Linked DNA regions of Homo sapiens: regions 1 and 2 are each linked to region 3. The links are contacts of gene promoters, found by promoter capture Hi-C in human tissues and cell types (Jung and others, 2019). All regions are on one chromosome and are shown on one strand. Each heading gives the region's core, a stretch centred on a gene start or on the middle of the fragment in contact. The rest is flanking DNA. Distances are from core to core; before and after follow the strand shown. Region 1 overlaps SEPTIN8 (septin 8). Region 2 overlaps AFF4 (ALF transcription elongation factor 4). Region 3 holds the start of LEAP2 (liver enriched antimicrobial peptide 2).

The links. Contacts are between HindIII fragments. The study calls those that stand out against the background at their distance.
Region 1: a fragment that was not itself captured here is called in contact with the fragment with the promoter of LEAP2 in region 3 in 3 of the 25 tissues and cell types used here (dorsolateral prefrontal cortex, mesenchymal stem cells and pancreas).
Region 2: a fragment that was not itself captured here is called in contact with the fragment with the promoter of LEAP2 in region 3 in 2 of the 25 tissues and cell types used here (mesendoderm cells and thymus).

The regions. Positions count from the first base shown.
Region 1 is chr5:132,769,042-132,773,786 of GRCh38, forward strand. All of the region lies in intron 1 of SEPTIN8 (septin 8), which reads right to left. Among named protein-coding and RNA genes, the nearest start is that of SEPTIN8, 5.8 kb to the right of the region's middle. The HindIII fragment of the contact is 3,532 bases long and covers 189-3,720 here.
Region 2 is chr5:132,936,774-132,941,224 of GRCh38, forward strand. AFF4 (ALF transcription elongation factor 4) reads right to left here. Exons shown (of 21, transcript NM_014423.4): 2 at 294-420. The coding sequence starts at 416. Among named protein-coding and RNA genes, the nearest start is that of AFF4, 25 kb to the right of the region's middle. The HindIII fragment of the contact is 3,062 bases long and covers 298-3,359 here.
Region 3 is chr5:132,871,715-132,876,571 of GRCh38, forward strand. LEAP2 (liver enriched antimicrobial peptide 2) reads left to right here and starts at 1,954. Exons shown (of 3, transcript NM_052971.3): 1 at 1,954-2,037; 2 at 2,236-2,375; 3 at 2,696-3,332. The coding sequence starts at 1,981. The coding sequence ends at 2,732. It overlaps AFF4 (ALF transcription elongation factor 4), which reads right to left. Exons shown (of 21, transcript NM_014423.4): 21 at 3,681-4,857. The HindIII fragment of the contact is 2,304 bases long and covers 1-1,959 here.

The sequences.
Region 1 (4,745 bases), core at 705-3,204, 100 kb before region 3:
CTCAGTATTCACAACCAAAGGAAGGAAGGGACGTCTGGGATGATACCAACACCTCACTGAGGACCACCATGTGTGAACTAAGCCAAGTGATTTACACCCAGGCTCTCACTTGGTCCTTCCTCACTGTGGATGACAGACTCCATGATTATCCCCATTTTACAGGGGAGGAAACTGAAGCACACAGAAGCTAGGGAACTAACCAGGGCAGAGCAGGGACCTGAGAACAGACCAAGCTCTTGTCCCAAACCACTCTGCTACATTGCCTCCCCTGTTCTTAGCAGGCTTCCAACTCATTCATTCAGTCACTCAACACACACGCACTGGACATGTCTGCTGTGTGCCAGGAACTGAGATGGCTGCCAGTGAAAAGATGAGGACATCAGATCCTTGACCTCAGAGGGCTAAGCCTAAACTCAAATGCCTTTAGAAGCCAGGCAGGTAACATATATAGGTGAAGGGGAGCAGCACCTTAATAACAATGGCAACAACAACAGACATAACTAACATGTATTGCATGCTTGCTTTGCGCAACCCTAATTTAATCTAATTTAGTCCACACATCAGCCCTATGACATAGGCCGTAGCAGCCTCCCCATTGTCTAGATGAGACAATAGAGGCATCAAGAGAGTGTGTAATTTGCCCAAGACCACACTGCTCAGGAGAGCAAAGCCAGGATCTGAATGGAGACAACATGACTGTGAAACCCACACTTCTAGTCACATCACTCCCCGCCTGCTGGATGAAAGACAGCCACTAACTTGGCCAAGCGTGGGGGTTCCCGGGGAGAGGTGGGAATGGCAGAGAACTGGAGAGCCTGTGCTTATGCTCAATCCATGGTGGCCACAGTTCCACAACGCCAGCCAACTGTGGGAACACAGATCTAGTGTTGCCAAATCTTCCCGTTTTTAAAGAGAACCCAAAAATCTCTCTCTATATATACATATATATATATATATATATATATATATATATATATATATACACACACATATATATATATGTGTGTGTGTGTGTGTGTGTGTATATATATATATATATGTATATATGTATATATATATGTATATATGTATATATATATATATGTATATATGTGTATGTGTGTGTATATATATATATATATATATGTATATATGTATATATATGTATGTATGTATTTTTTGAGACACAGTCTGGCTCTGTCACCCAGGCTGGAGTGGTGTGATCTCAGCTCACTGTAACCTCCGCCTCCTAGGTACAAGCAATTCTCATGCCTCAGACTCCCCAGTAGCTGGGATTACAGGCACGCAACCACCACGCCTGGCTGATTTTTGTATTTTTAGTAGAGACGGGGTTTCACTATGTTGGCCAGGTCGGTCTTGAACTCCTGACCTCAGGTGATCCACCTGCGTTGGCCTCCCAAAGTGCTGGGATTACAGGTGTGAGCCACCATGCCTGGCCCAGAAATCTATATTTTTATGTGAAATTCTGTAATTTTTAAAGATTGACAACCAATACAAACTGAGAATACCATGAGGGCCCAATACAACATGTCAGGGGGCTGGTGTGGGCCAAAGGCCTGCTGGTCTGTAAGCTGGCTCTGGTGGGAGGGTGAGCTGGACGGACCCTGCAGCCAGGCTCCATTCTCAAGTCAGGAAGCCCCATGGCAGACTGCTCTGTGGGGAGGAGCCTTCAGGCAGGACAACTTAACTTGGACCCCAGAGAGAGGTGGACCCAAAGCCTCTGGCTCATTCCACACACCCAGCTCCCTGAGGTGCTCACACAGGGGTGAGCGTTGTATATGTCTTCAAAGTCCCAGGATAGAGGGAGTTGGCAGCTCTGAGCTCTACATATGCAATGAGAAACTCCATGGGGCCATTATCCCCTCTCTAATCACTAACAAGCTTTTGGCTCCTGAGCCAGGCCCCAGGCTTCTGTGTCATCATTTCTTTGGCACATCAAAGACAACAACCAAAACAATAACTTCTCAGGCCGGCTGCGTGCCTCCATGCCCGGCCGTCCAAGACAAAGTAGAGAACAGCATTTTGTTACGCAGCCCAGTGGATAACTAGGACGCCCTTTTCCTGATAGGAAATGCTCTGTCTGAGCCTCCTAGAGCAGCCCTCATCACCAGCCAAGAGGAGCTGTCCCTTTTACCATGAAACAAGGTGGGATCTGGGAAGAAACTGCATCTCATGGTTGCCAACACACAAAAACAGGTTTTTATCCAGAAGGAACTGGAAATCTACTGAATCTCTAAACCAACAGAGCCGGGGAAGCTGTGGGTAAATAAAGACCCCTGTGATCCAAACCCCCAAACTAGGCTGGTTGTTGCAGTGGGAGTAGAAAGGATACCCCACCATAGGTGGATTGGCTACCGAGTAATGGACAAAGAGCAGCCCCCAGACCTCAGGCCTTCCAGAGTTCTCCAGTGCCTTGGACTTTGGATGCTTTTCTTCCTCTGGGCTCCCATGCCTAGCACCCACTCACCTGTACACCCAGTCAGGCAGACAGGAAGCCCACTCCCCAGGGGAGCTCCAGCCCTGGGGGTGGCCCTATTAAGTAACTGAGCAATGGACTCAGGAGTCAATGGACCACTGGAAGCTTTCTCCACCCATGTTCCTGGCACAAACTATGCTAGCCCCGGCTCCAGCTCCTCCCAGGAGCCTGGGCCTTAAATAGCCAGAGCAGAGGCCTCTAGCCAGAACCCGTGGTCGCGGTCATAAGCACAACTGTCCTTGAGCCTGAGAGGAATCCTAGGAATTTTCCCAGGAAAGGCTTCGGCTCTGGTCCCAGGATTCCACAGCAAGCCTCTAAGCCCAGGTCAGAGGTTACGGGAAATAACCAAGGAGACATACGTGGGAGGGTGGGGGTGGGATGCTGCTACCCGGGGCCAGGAAGGAAGAATAGAGGCAGGATATACCTGTCCCAAATCAAGAGGACACCTGGGAGCCAAAGCATCTTTCTCCTACAGTGGCAACAGAAAACTTGAGAGAAGATTCAAGCAAGGATCACCCGCCATGGTCCCAACATGACGGCAGTCAAGGTAACAGGAAGCCAATCATCCTCACAAGGCCAGTCCTACTCCACCCATCCTGGGAAGAGAAGGAATTTTGGGAGCAAAACCATCCCCTGACCCCAATACTCCATTCTCTCTGTTTCTCTGTCTCACTAAGAGGCACTGTCTTTCCTTTCTGCACACAGCCAGCCAGGCTGGAGCTTATTAATTTGGGATAGTGTGTTTCAAGCTTTTCCCATCAAAATCAGATTTCCAGGAAGCTAAGAGCACAGTTACTGGTAGCTGGGCCAGTACTCGCCACCCCAACCCCCAGGCCTAGGACAGACACATTCTTGGCCTTTATTGTGCTGCCTGAGAGGGAGTGGTCTATCCCACCACAGAGGAGATGGGGAAGGTGCTCTGGGCTGCAGAATGTACTAGAACTCCAGGCATTCATATTTTCTTACTTAGCTCAGGGACTCCAGTGGCAGCCACCACTGCCTTGTAACAGGGAAAGCCACGAGTGGTCTGGGTATCACTGGCAGGAGAAGGCAGCCTCTGTTTCACAGCAAATGAAACCCTTGGAGGGAGAATGTGGGCAGCAAAGGTGCCCCGCCTTCTGTCCAACCCCACGATGGATGCCAGTGCTGGAAAGGGACGGAGGAATGCATGGGCACCAATACGGGTTGGCAGAGGTATGGGGGTGGCACTGCTATACTTCTCTGCTGCTTGTCCATTCACTCCAACACCAGGCAGAATGTCAGGTTTGTACCCAGGCCCAAGAGCCATGTCTGGCAAGTGGGCTTGGGTCCATACCCACAGCCCCTCCTGAACCCCAAGCATCAGGCAGCCCAAGCCCTGGAGCCCCCTCAGAAAACAGCCAGCCACCTGCCAGCAGACATGGGCCCCTGTACCTTCCTCTGCTGGTTCTGTCCCTCTAATCTGACCTCTAGGATAGGGAACACCTGAAAGCCGTGTATCCTGAGGAGAATATCTAATTTGCCCCAAGAACATGTAGGGCAACTGCACGCAGAGCCAAGATGCCCCCTGCCCCGTCCTCCGCTGCCTCTTCCCAGCCAGTTCTTTCAGGAGCTCTGAAGGTTCAGATGGCTCCAAAAGAAGCCAACAGAGTGCCCCAGCTCTACCACAAGGGCATGGAGACCTTGGGAGGGCGTCTCCTCCCCAGGCAGATGTGTCTCCCTCCTGCATGCATAGCTCTGCATCTGGTTATCTGGCAAAGCTTTTGCCTTGGGGGCCATGCCTGGGGATCCTGAAACCCAAGCTGGCAGCACAGAGGCAGGAAGGCTGGGGAGGCTGCAAGGGACACACAGAGGCCAGCTGGCCCTCAGGCCCTTTGCTCTACCATCCTGCAGCTGCTCGCCTCTGGTAGCTGGACTTGAGCCACAGAGACATTCGTGGTAGTTACTGCCCCAAATATAATATATGCTTCCACCTAGCCCATCCGAGGGCTCAAAACGCCAAGGTATCCACCCTCTCTGTCATCTCTGGTATTGGAATTTGGATCTTGTTCCCCCTACCTTTGCTAGCCAATGACCAAAGTCTGCATCCTCACCCAACCTTGGGCTGTTGGCATCAACAAGATAATGCGCTCAAAGCACCCACTGCCCTCCTTGCCATCCAAGGTTTTTGACACAAGTCAGACCCTGGGTTCCCAGGCTCCATCCAGTCTCCCTCCTCCTTGGCCCTGAGCTTGGTCTCCTCCTTGCCATCCTCTCTGTTCCTATCATGGTCAGTCTTTTAGCATGTGCT
Region 2 (4,451 bases), core at 579-3,078, 65 kb after region 3:
CGACTTTTAGGGTGCTGGTAATGCTCTATTTCTTGATCTGAGTTGTATGAAGCTGTTGATGCTGTGAAAATTCTTCAAGCCATAATACCTATGTTGTGTATTTTTCTGTAAGCATAATATACTCCAAAGAAAAGTTTATCCCCAAAAAATATCTTCTATGTAAAGGACAGGAAAAAAATGTTAAGTGGTATTCATAGTAATTCTTTTCTAATATAAACATTCAAGTGTGAAACATTTTAAAAGCAAAAATGTCATGCTAATGGGAAAAAAACATTCACAGAAGGGCAACTTACAACTTTGTATGGCTCTGCAAAGAGAGGAGAGCTAGGTGGGAAGGCGTCTTCGCCCTGCTGAATTTCCTGATTCCGCCTTTCCCGTTCTTTCATACGCAGCACATTCCGGTCTTCACGGTTCATGTTGCTATGAAAAGAAACACAATCTTTGTATCACAGAAATAAAAGGAAAAATTAAATATTCTGTACAGATTTTGTCAGCTTAACACTTCAATCACAGATTCCCTTTTGACCTCCAAGTAATAACAGGCATTAGTGCTGAAGCTGGGTTTTGGTAATGGTTTTATCAACAAATACCAATAGTGTCTTCCACAACTATTCCAAGGAAACACTAGCCCAGAATATTAGAACCCACCCCAACAAAACACTTAACCTTATCAATGTTTGAAGTACTCTGTTAGCTAAAAGCAAAAACTTGTACATTCAGAGGGAACGTAGTATTTGAACACAAATCCTCAGTATTTCCTTTTGGGCCCTCCTCTTCAGAAATCTGCCTATTCTTTGCCCTTAGAAGCATATAACCCACTCCCAACTACCACCCTTCCCCCCAGGGTCCAGTTCTTTTCTCTACTTTGCATCTACCTTATCTTGATTTCTTTTTGTCCCAAACACAGCTTCCTTGGTGTCCATCCTTACGGTAGTTTGACCTCAGCTTTGCTGTTGCTCTAGATTCCCTAAAAAACGACATTTCTGCTCTAAATATATTAATATTTCAATTAACACCTCAATAAATGGCAAAACCCAGGTTTTCAGTGATAGAATCAAAAATTAACTTGGATTAGTAACAGCAACTAAACTTGTATTGAAAAAGGAAGTCTTTGGAGTGAGGGGAAAATGGAAGTCCCATCTCTATAATCAGGACAGTTTGTCTTATTTTCACTAGAACAAACCAAGAGAAATACAGCCAATTTATAGCAGCAAGGATTTTGATTAAACAGACAATGGTAGTAAAGGCTGGCAAACTCTGGCACTAGGGATTACCAGGGAATCTGCAACACTCTTCCCTGGAGACAGATTAAATAATCAGACCTGGTTTTGTTTTTTTTTTTAAAAAAAAAGGCTCACTGGAGCCCAGAAAGAAACAATCAGGTTATATGTGTGGAGCATTTCTGGCCTATAATTCATAAATCAAATCAGAAAATTAAAGTTCATCAGAAACTATAATTATAAAATTAGAATTAGTAACAAAGCAGTATTATACTCTTTTTTTTTTTTTTGAAACAGAGTCTTGCTCTATCATCCAGGCTGGAGTGCGGTGGTGCGATCTCCCAGCTCACCACAACCTATGCCTCCCGGGTTCAAGCGATTCTCCTACCTCAGCCTCCTGAGTAGCTGGGATTACAGGTGCATGCCAATGGCTGGCTAATTTTTTTATTTTTAGTAGAGACAGGATTTCACCATGTTGGCCAGGCCAGGCTGGACTCCTGACCTCAAGTGATCCTCCCACCTTGGCCTCCCAAAGTGCTGGGATTACAGGCATGAGAGCAACCAAGTACTTTTGAGGACTTTAATCAGTGGTTAGAACTAGTGAAAGCAAACATTTAAAATTAAAACCTCCTGATTTGCATACTAAGTGTCATGCAATAAAAGCAATTTAACGGCCTGAGCGGCTCACGCCTGTAAACCCAGCACTTTGGGAGGCCGAGGTGGGCAGATCACAAGGTCAGGAGATCGAGACCATCCTGGCTAACACGGTGAAACCCCGTCTCTACTAAAAATACAAAAAATTAGCCAGGTGCAGTGGCAGGCGCCTGTAGTCCCGGCTACTCAGGAGGCTGAGGCAGGAGAATGGCGTGAACCCGGGAGGCAGAGATTGCAGTGAGCTGAGATGGCACCACTGCACTCCAGCCTGGGCGACAGAGAGAGACTCATCTCAAAAAAAAAAAAAAAAAAAAAAGGCAATTTAATGTTTAGAAAAAAAAAAAAAAAAGGGACCCGAGGTGGGAGGATCGCTTGACCTGCCTAGCCAACATGACAAAACTGCATCTCTACTAAAAATAAAATTTAGCCAGGTGTGGTGGTGGACACCTGTAATAGCTTCTCGGGAGGCTCAAGCAAGAGAATCACTTGAATCCAGGAGGCAGAGGTTGCAGTGAGCCATGATTGTGCCACTGATCTCCAGCCTGGGAGACAGAACGAGACCCTTTCTCAAAAAAAAAAAAAAAAGAATGTTCTAAGTGTTTCAGATATGTTTTCAAATTGTTTTGTATGTATACAATTTTCTAATAAGCTTAATGTATACAATTTTCTAATAAGCTTAAACAGGATTTCTTTGGTTTCGCTAATACTTAGCACTCTATAGAACTCTATTTCAATCTTTAAAGAATACCACAAAACTTAAGTATTCATAAAACAAAACCAAAGAACATATTATACTCCATCACATTTGAACCAAGTAATAGTTTTATATCACTAACAACCAGGCTTCAAATAGGCCTCTTGGGCTATGGTTCTGCCAACATACAAAGTTATTTATACCTGAGAGACTAAGGAATATGTTAACTACCAGTTTCCTTAAATTTAAATCCTGAAAGATCTGCAACTTCTTTTTTCTTTTTTTTGAGACGAAGTCTCGCTCTTGTCCCCCAGGTTGAAGTGCGATGGCACGATCTCGGCTCACTGCAACCTCCACCACCCAGGTTCAATTGATTCTCCTGCCTCAGCCTCCTGAGTAGCTGGGATTACAGGCACCTGCCACCACGCCCGGCTAATTTTTGTATTTTTAGTAGCGATGGGGTTTCACCGAGTTGGCCAAACTCCTGGTCTCAAACTCCAGACATCAGGTGATCTGCCTGCCTTGGCCTCTCAAAGTGCTGGGATTACAGGCATGAGCCTGAACTTTGGCTTAAGGCCAGGAGCGGTGGCTTACAACTGTAATCCCAGCACTTTGAGAGGCCAAGGCGGGCGGATCACTGGAGGTAAGGAGTTCAAGACCAGCCTGGCCAATGCAGTGAAACCCCATCTCTACTACAAAATACAAAAAAGTAGCCTGCCGTGGTAGCAGGTGCCTATAATCCCAGCTACTCAGGAGGCTGAGGCAGGAGAACTGCATGAACCTGGGAGGCGGAGGTTGCAGTGAGTCAAGATCGCACCACTGGACTCCAGCCTGGGTGACAAGAGCAAGACTCCATCTCAAAAAAATAAAAATAAAGGCCGGGTGCGGTGGCTCACGCCTGTAATCCTAGCAATTTGGGTGGCGGAGGCGGGCAGATCACAAGGTCAGGAGATTGAGATATCCTGGCTAACACAGTGAAACCCCATCTCTACTAAAAATATAAAAAGAAATTATCCGGGCGTGGCGGTGGGCGCCTGAAGTCCCAGCTACTCGGGAGGCTGAGGCAGGAGAATGGCGTGAACCCGGGAGGCGGAGCTTGCAGTGAGTCGAGATCGCACCACTGCACTCCAGCCTGGGCGACAGAGGGAGACTCCGTCTCAAAAAAAAATAAAAATAAAAACAAAAAATAAAGTATGATTTTATTTTATAGATTGAGCAGCACTGAAATAATCATTCAAGAAGTATTTCTATATCTCTTGTAAAAATAGGTGATTCCTATAATAAAATTCTTTCTGTAATTCAATGTCAAAGAAACTGGTTTTTTAAACAATCAAAGTCACACAAGTGAACACTTATAAGGCTACCAGGAAGCTAAGAACTAAATTAACTCACTGTAATAATTAGGTCGGGTGCTGTGGCTCACTCCTGTAATCCCAGCACTTTGGGAGGCCGAGGCAGGCGGATGACCTGAGGTCAAGAATTCAAGACCAGCCTGGCCAACACGGTGAAACCCCATCTCCACCAAAAATACAAAAATTAGCCAGGCATGGTGGCAGGTGCCTGTAATCCCAGCTACTCAGGAGGCTGATGCAGGAGAAAAGCTTGAACTCAGGAGGCGGAGGTTGCAGTGAGCTGAGATTGCATCACTGAACTCCAGCCTGGGTGACAAAACGAAACTACATCTCAAAAAAAAAAAAGAAAGAAAAGAAAAAATTAATATACCAGTTATAGTGCTTATTCTCTATTTTTTTCTGATCTTTTTGTATCAAATATATTGGTTCGATTTTTTTTGCCTCCTGTGTCTCTTACCATCACTATCTCTGGCTAAGATGAAATAAGTTTTCTCCAAAAGCAATAATTCCAGTAATTTCAACTCCTCCAAC
Region 3 (4,857 bases), core at 704-3,203:
TGACTAATGGTTTTTTCTTTTGGGGAGAGGGTGGCATACAACATAGAGGCTTGAACCAAAGGCCTCTGCAATGTTGTCACACTCATGAGGATGAATGGTCCTTTCCGCCTACACACAGAGGGGCAAGGGCTTCAAGCTCTTTCTTTCCTTGACTGTGTTATCAGCTTTACAAATTAACACCATGCTAGTTTGATCCTGCTAGAAGTACAGGAAGGCAGAAATGGAGGATTAGGAGAATTACTCATCTTTTGGATGAACAGTTTCCAAATCCCATTTGGCACATCACTCTAGACTGGTAAAGGGGAGGCTGACACTGAGGCCACAGACCCAACTGGCTCTAGGACATCACGTTGTTCAGTCCTTTGCTTATCTAATCATTTGTGTTCTTACCCAGTGCTCACTAGGTCACCCACATAGCCACTTCCCCTCCCAGCAAAAGTTCCCAGTTTAGGCACCTGTCTGGGATCATCCAGTATCCAAGCTTAGGGGTGAAGGGAGGGAGCAGAGAACTAGTCTCAACTGGTTCGTTGGTATATAGGTCTCTTCTCAATGTTCCTAAAGTGCATGCAGTGGCATCCCCCTCAAGGCCTGGCTCCATGATTCTGAGAGGACTAGAATCAGGACAGTCAGATCTGTGGTCACATCCTGCCCAATTCCAGCTCTGAGGTCCATCAAACCATCTGCTTCTCCCTTGGCAAGAAGCTCCCTCTGTCTGACTGGCAGCAGGGTCAGTGGCCATCCTTTTCTACCTTCAGCTGTTGTGCATCTCCTCCACGTTTTCCTGGAGTAAAGGAACAAGCAGGTTCTTATCCAAATACCCAACCTGTGAAGATGAGACGGCCCTTGGGAAGAGGTATTAGCCAAGTTTTCAGTATGATGCCCGGCAGAAAGAATTTGTTGTCTTTGTCTTAAGCTTATTATCCTCCCAGGTCATAGGAAGATCTAAAGTCCAATCAGTCTCCTTACTCAGAATTCACAGCTTTCCCCTCAAACTTAAAATGCCCATGTCATTTCACGAGTACCCATAACTACCCATCGTTTAGATACATGTCCTCCCTTGGTCTAGAAATCTGCAGCAGTTCCTACTTAAACTGATGGATGCTTTGGGCTTTGGAGGTATCTCATCCCTATGCCTGTTGCCCTGAAGCTGCCGGAAGGAAAGGCCCCACTCAACTACTGGGAAGAAAGCCCATAATTCAAGGCTTTTAATACAGTCACTACACAAGCTCTCCCTCTGATTTAGGAGATCTTGTTACCTCCTCATCTACATGTGCTTAAAAACAAAAAGAAACCTATAATTATTCAATTCACCTGTGGTCCAAATAAGTCTCACATCCAGCCATTCCCCTGAGAGGGCAGGAGGCCAGACTTTGAACTTTCCACAGCTGGGTCTTCATTTTACTAGTGAGATAAAGAGGTGCAGATTAGGGTGACAGTCCATCTAAGCAAGTGGACGATCTGGGGAACTGTAGGCCTTGCTGAAGCATCCTCCCACAGAAAGGAGATAAGGGCCTTATCCAATTGGCTGTACACAATAGATCAGTGCTTCTTTCCTAGACAAGGCTGAAAGGGGCCAACATTATTTCTGAAGACTTCATTATTGGAATTCTATGGGAGTGATCTCACTGAGCTATTTTGGAATAGAAATGTGGCTAGTTGCCTGACCTCCCTCAATGGTTTCACGTGGCTTTCAAAGGGAAGGAAGGGCAGTGCTGACTTTTGGTAAAATGGGCGAAAGGGTCCATGCCAGCAACACAATCACTCAAAGTCCAGATGAGGGATCAGTAAATACAACGTGCCTGAAAGGTGGCCCTTGAGCACATTCCTCCGGTAGACATTAACTTATTAAATTGATTCTGATTACAAATATAAACTTTGCCCCCATCTCACCCAGTAACAATGCAAGAGTTGATGTCAGTCTATAAAAGGAAGTAGGAACTGTCCCTGGCTTTCAGGCTCCAACATCCTCCCCCTGTCAAGATGTGGCACCTCAAACTTTGTGCAGTCCTCATGATCTTCCTGTTGCTGTTGGGCCAGGTAAGGAGGGAAGGATACTTATGTGTGTGTGTGGAGTGTGGAGATGATAGTGGTGGTGGAACTTGAAAGCTAGATTCAGTCCTGAGGAATGGTTCCTCTGTTCTGAGTCTACAGCATCTGCGGAATGGAATGATCACTCTTCCAAGGTGTGCAGCAGGGTGTCAACACTTTCATATCTGAATGTCTTTGCCCTTACAGATAGATGGCTCCCCAATACCAGAAGTGAGTTCGGCAAAGAGAAGGCCACGGAGAATGACCCCATTTTGGAGAGGGGTTTCCCTCAGGCCTATTGGAGCCTCCTGCCGGGATGATTCTGAGTGTATCACAAGGCTATGCAGGTACTCCCTGAACCTGGGAGCAGGGTTGGGCCAGAGAGCCCTGGGAAGCTGGGCAGAGGAGTGACAAGGGGACACATGAACCTAAGAATAAAGCTGGGATGGAGGAGTTCTAGACTGAGACTGGGAGCTCCATGGAAAATCCCTTAGGAGTTAGGAGCCAAGAACAGCTCTATGTGGGTACCATGAAAGAGTGGTGCCTTTCCATTCTTCAGTCTTTCCTGAGACTGGACAGATCAAGCAAAGAGGAAGGAAATGCAGCATAGGTGGCCCTGGTCATTCCTAGACCCAGTCTTAAAAAACTACCCTTTCTTTTCCCCTAGAAAAAGACGCTGTTCCTTAAGTGTGGCCCAGGAATGATGTACATACCAGGGAAAGAAAGGACAGCAGTCACCTCCGACAATGCTCCGTTCTATGGAATATTGATTAACTGCATTTTGGCTGGAGACACCCAAGTGAAGCAATCTTGTATTTTTAATATTTAAAGGCAGATGTACGCTTTAAATTGGTCTCCATTTCTTCTTAGAATGTTGATATATGGATAAGCATAACTAAACTTGTCAATTTAGAGTTTATTTTTCTATGGATACTATTAAATGTCTCAAATTGAAATTTTAGCAGTCTGGAATTCAAGCTTTTGAGGGAAAGAAGGATTCATTTTGTATACTAAAGAAAAAAACAGCATTGCCCAATAATGTGTTAACTTCTCAATCTGGAAAGTGTAGTGAGAGCTACATAATCAATAGCTACGTAATCAACTTCAGCAAGTTCCTAAGCTGTGGCCCTGGATCCCTTCACTCCATACTCTTCAGGGAGGTGTCAAAGGTGGTCAAGCTTGGGAGGCTGAGGCAGGAGAATCACTTGAACCTGGGAGGTGGAGGTTGCAGTGAGCCAAGATCATGCCACTGCACCCCAGCCTGGGTGACATAGAGAGACTCTGTCTCAAAAAAAAAAAAAAAAAAAAAAGATGGTCAAGCACTTGCCATCTAATGAAGCACCCAGGTTTGTCTATGGCTGTCTGAAGATAAGGCAGAACAGAGAGAAAAATCTAGTTTAATAAAGCAATGAAAGCCCAAGCCACCAAAAGCACCAAAAGAGATTTAAGATTTCTGTTGGGACAAGGTGAATTTTGACATATGCACAAGGACCCATGGCCAGCAAGTTCAGAATTTCTGTAATCAGAAAATGAGACCTCAGCTGGTGGGAACAGACTTTTAAAGAGTAGTAACGGACCTTAAGACACAAAACAGGAATTGCATGAAAAGGGCTCAGAGTTGAAGAAATATAAAGAGTACAGTGTTCAGTAACTTTAATACAGAAAATCTATTTGATATTTATTAAACTTAGTTTCTCCAACTATGGTTTGGCATTGTACAAAGCATCTTAATGACACAGTAGAGTTAAAAAGATCTTTACAAATTGAAATGTGATACCCTTGTCTCCAAATATTTTAATTGCCATAAATTTGTTTAAAAATACACATTAAACGCATGTTTGACACTCTAAACTTTCTATACTCTCAATACCACAAAATACATATAATATACTATACAGATGTGGAAAAATCTAGTTAGTATATAATACTTTGCTCACCATTAACAGCTTTATCGTGTGAAATGCACATACTGACTTAGAAATCCTAGCTTTTGAGCCCCAAAGTACCTCTGAAATTGTAATGTATTGCAACAAATAAAAATCACAGTATATAATTGAAATTCTGGTTGAAAATGTCAGATGCCTAAATATTTTGGATAAAAGAAATGTAAAACAAAGATTTGGTTCATGTACAAAACAAAGGCATCCTTATCAGTCACTAACAGTACCTTTCTGCAAAATCAACAGGCTTTTAATTTATCAGTGACATTATCTCCCCTCCAAAACCCTCCCCAAATATCAAACAATTATATACCAAATAATTTTAATTTCAAATAAAAGGATTTTCAATAAATATATAAGCATTTCCATCCTCCATATACAAAATTTCTTAAAACCATTCAAAACGGAGGCTAGATAGAAATTTTCATAACTGTGCTTACCAACCCCACAACTGGCCCTTAAAGGTGGTGCCTTTTCAGGCAATGTCAACTGGCCAGTTCTGTTGGTGAGCCCCCTACCCCCACCCCACCCATCCCAGTACTGTTGAATGCTCATGTTAATGATTTGCCAGGTGTGTGCATAAAGTTGTAAAATGGGGACACTTCTGGAACACCAACAACAAACTCAACAATATGGATGATCATGGCATTGATTTGAAAGGCAGCATTTCCAAATTGATATTTTCCAGAGAGGAACATAGCAGGTAGAAAATTCCAATGGTTAAAAGCTGAAAAGAAGTCCCACATGGAAGCAGTAAGAGGTCAAAACTGAGTATCACTAGAGTTTCTGGGTGGGAGCTTTTTTATTTTTAAGAATGGCAAGTTATGTTTAGCTGAGTAACAGTGGCAAGGAGAGGTCAATGCTGACATTCCTGAAAGTCAACTTCTTT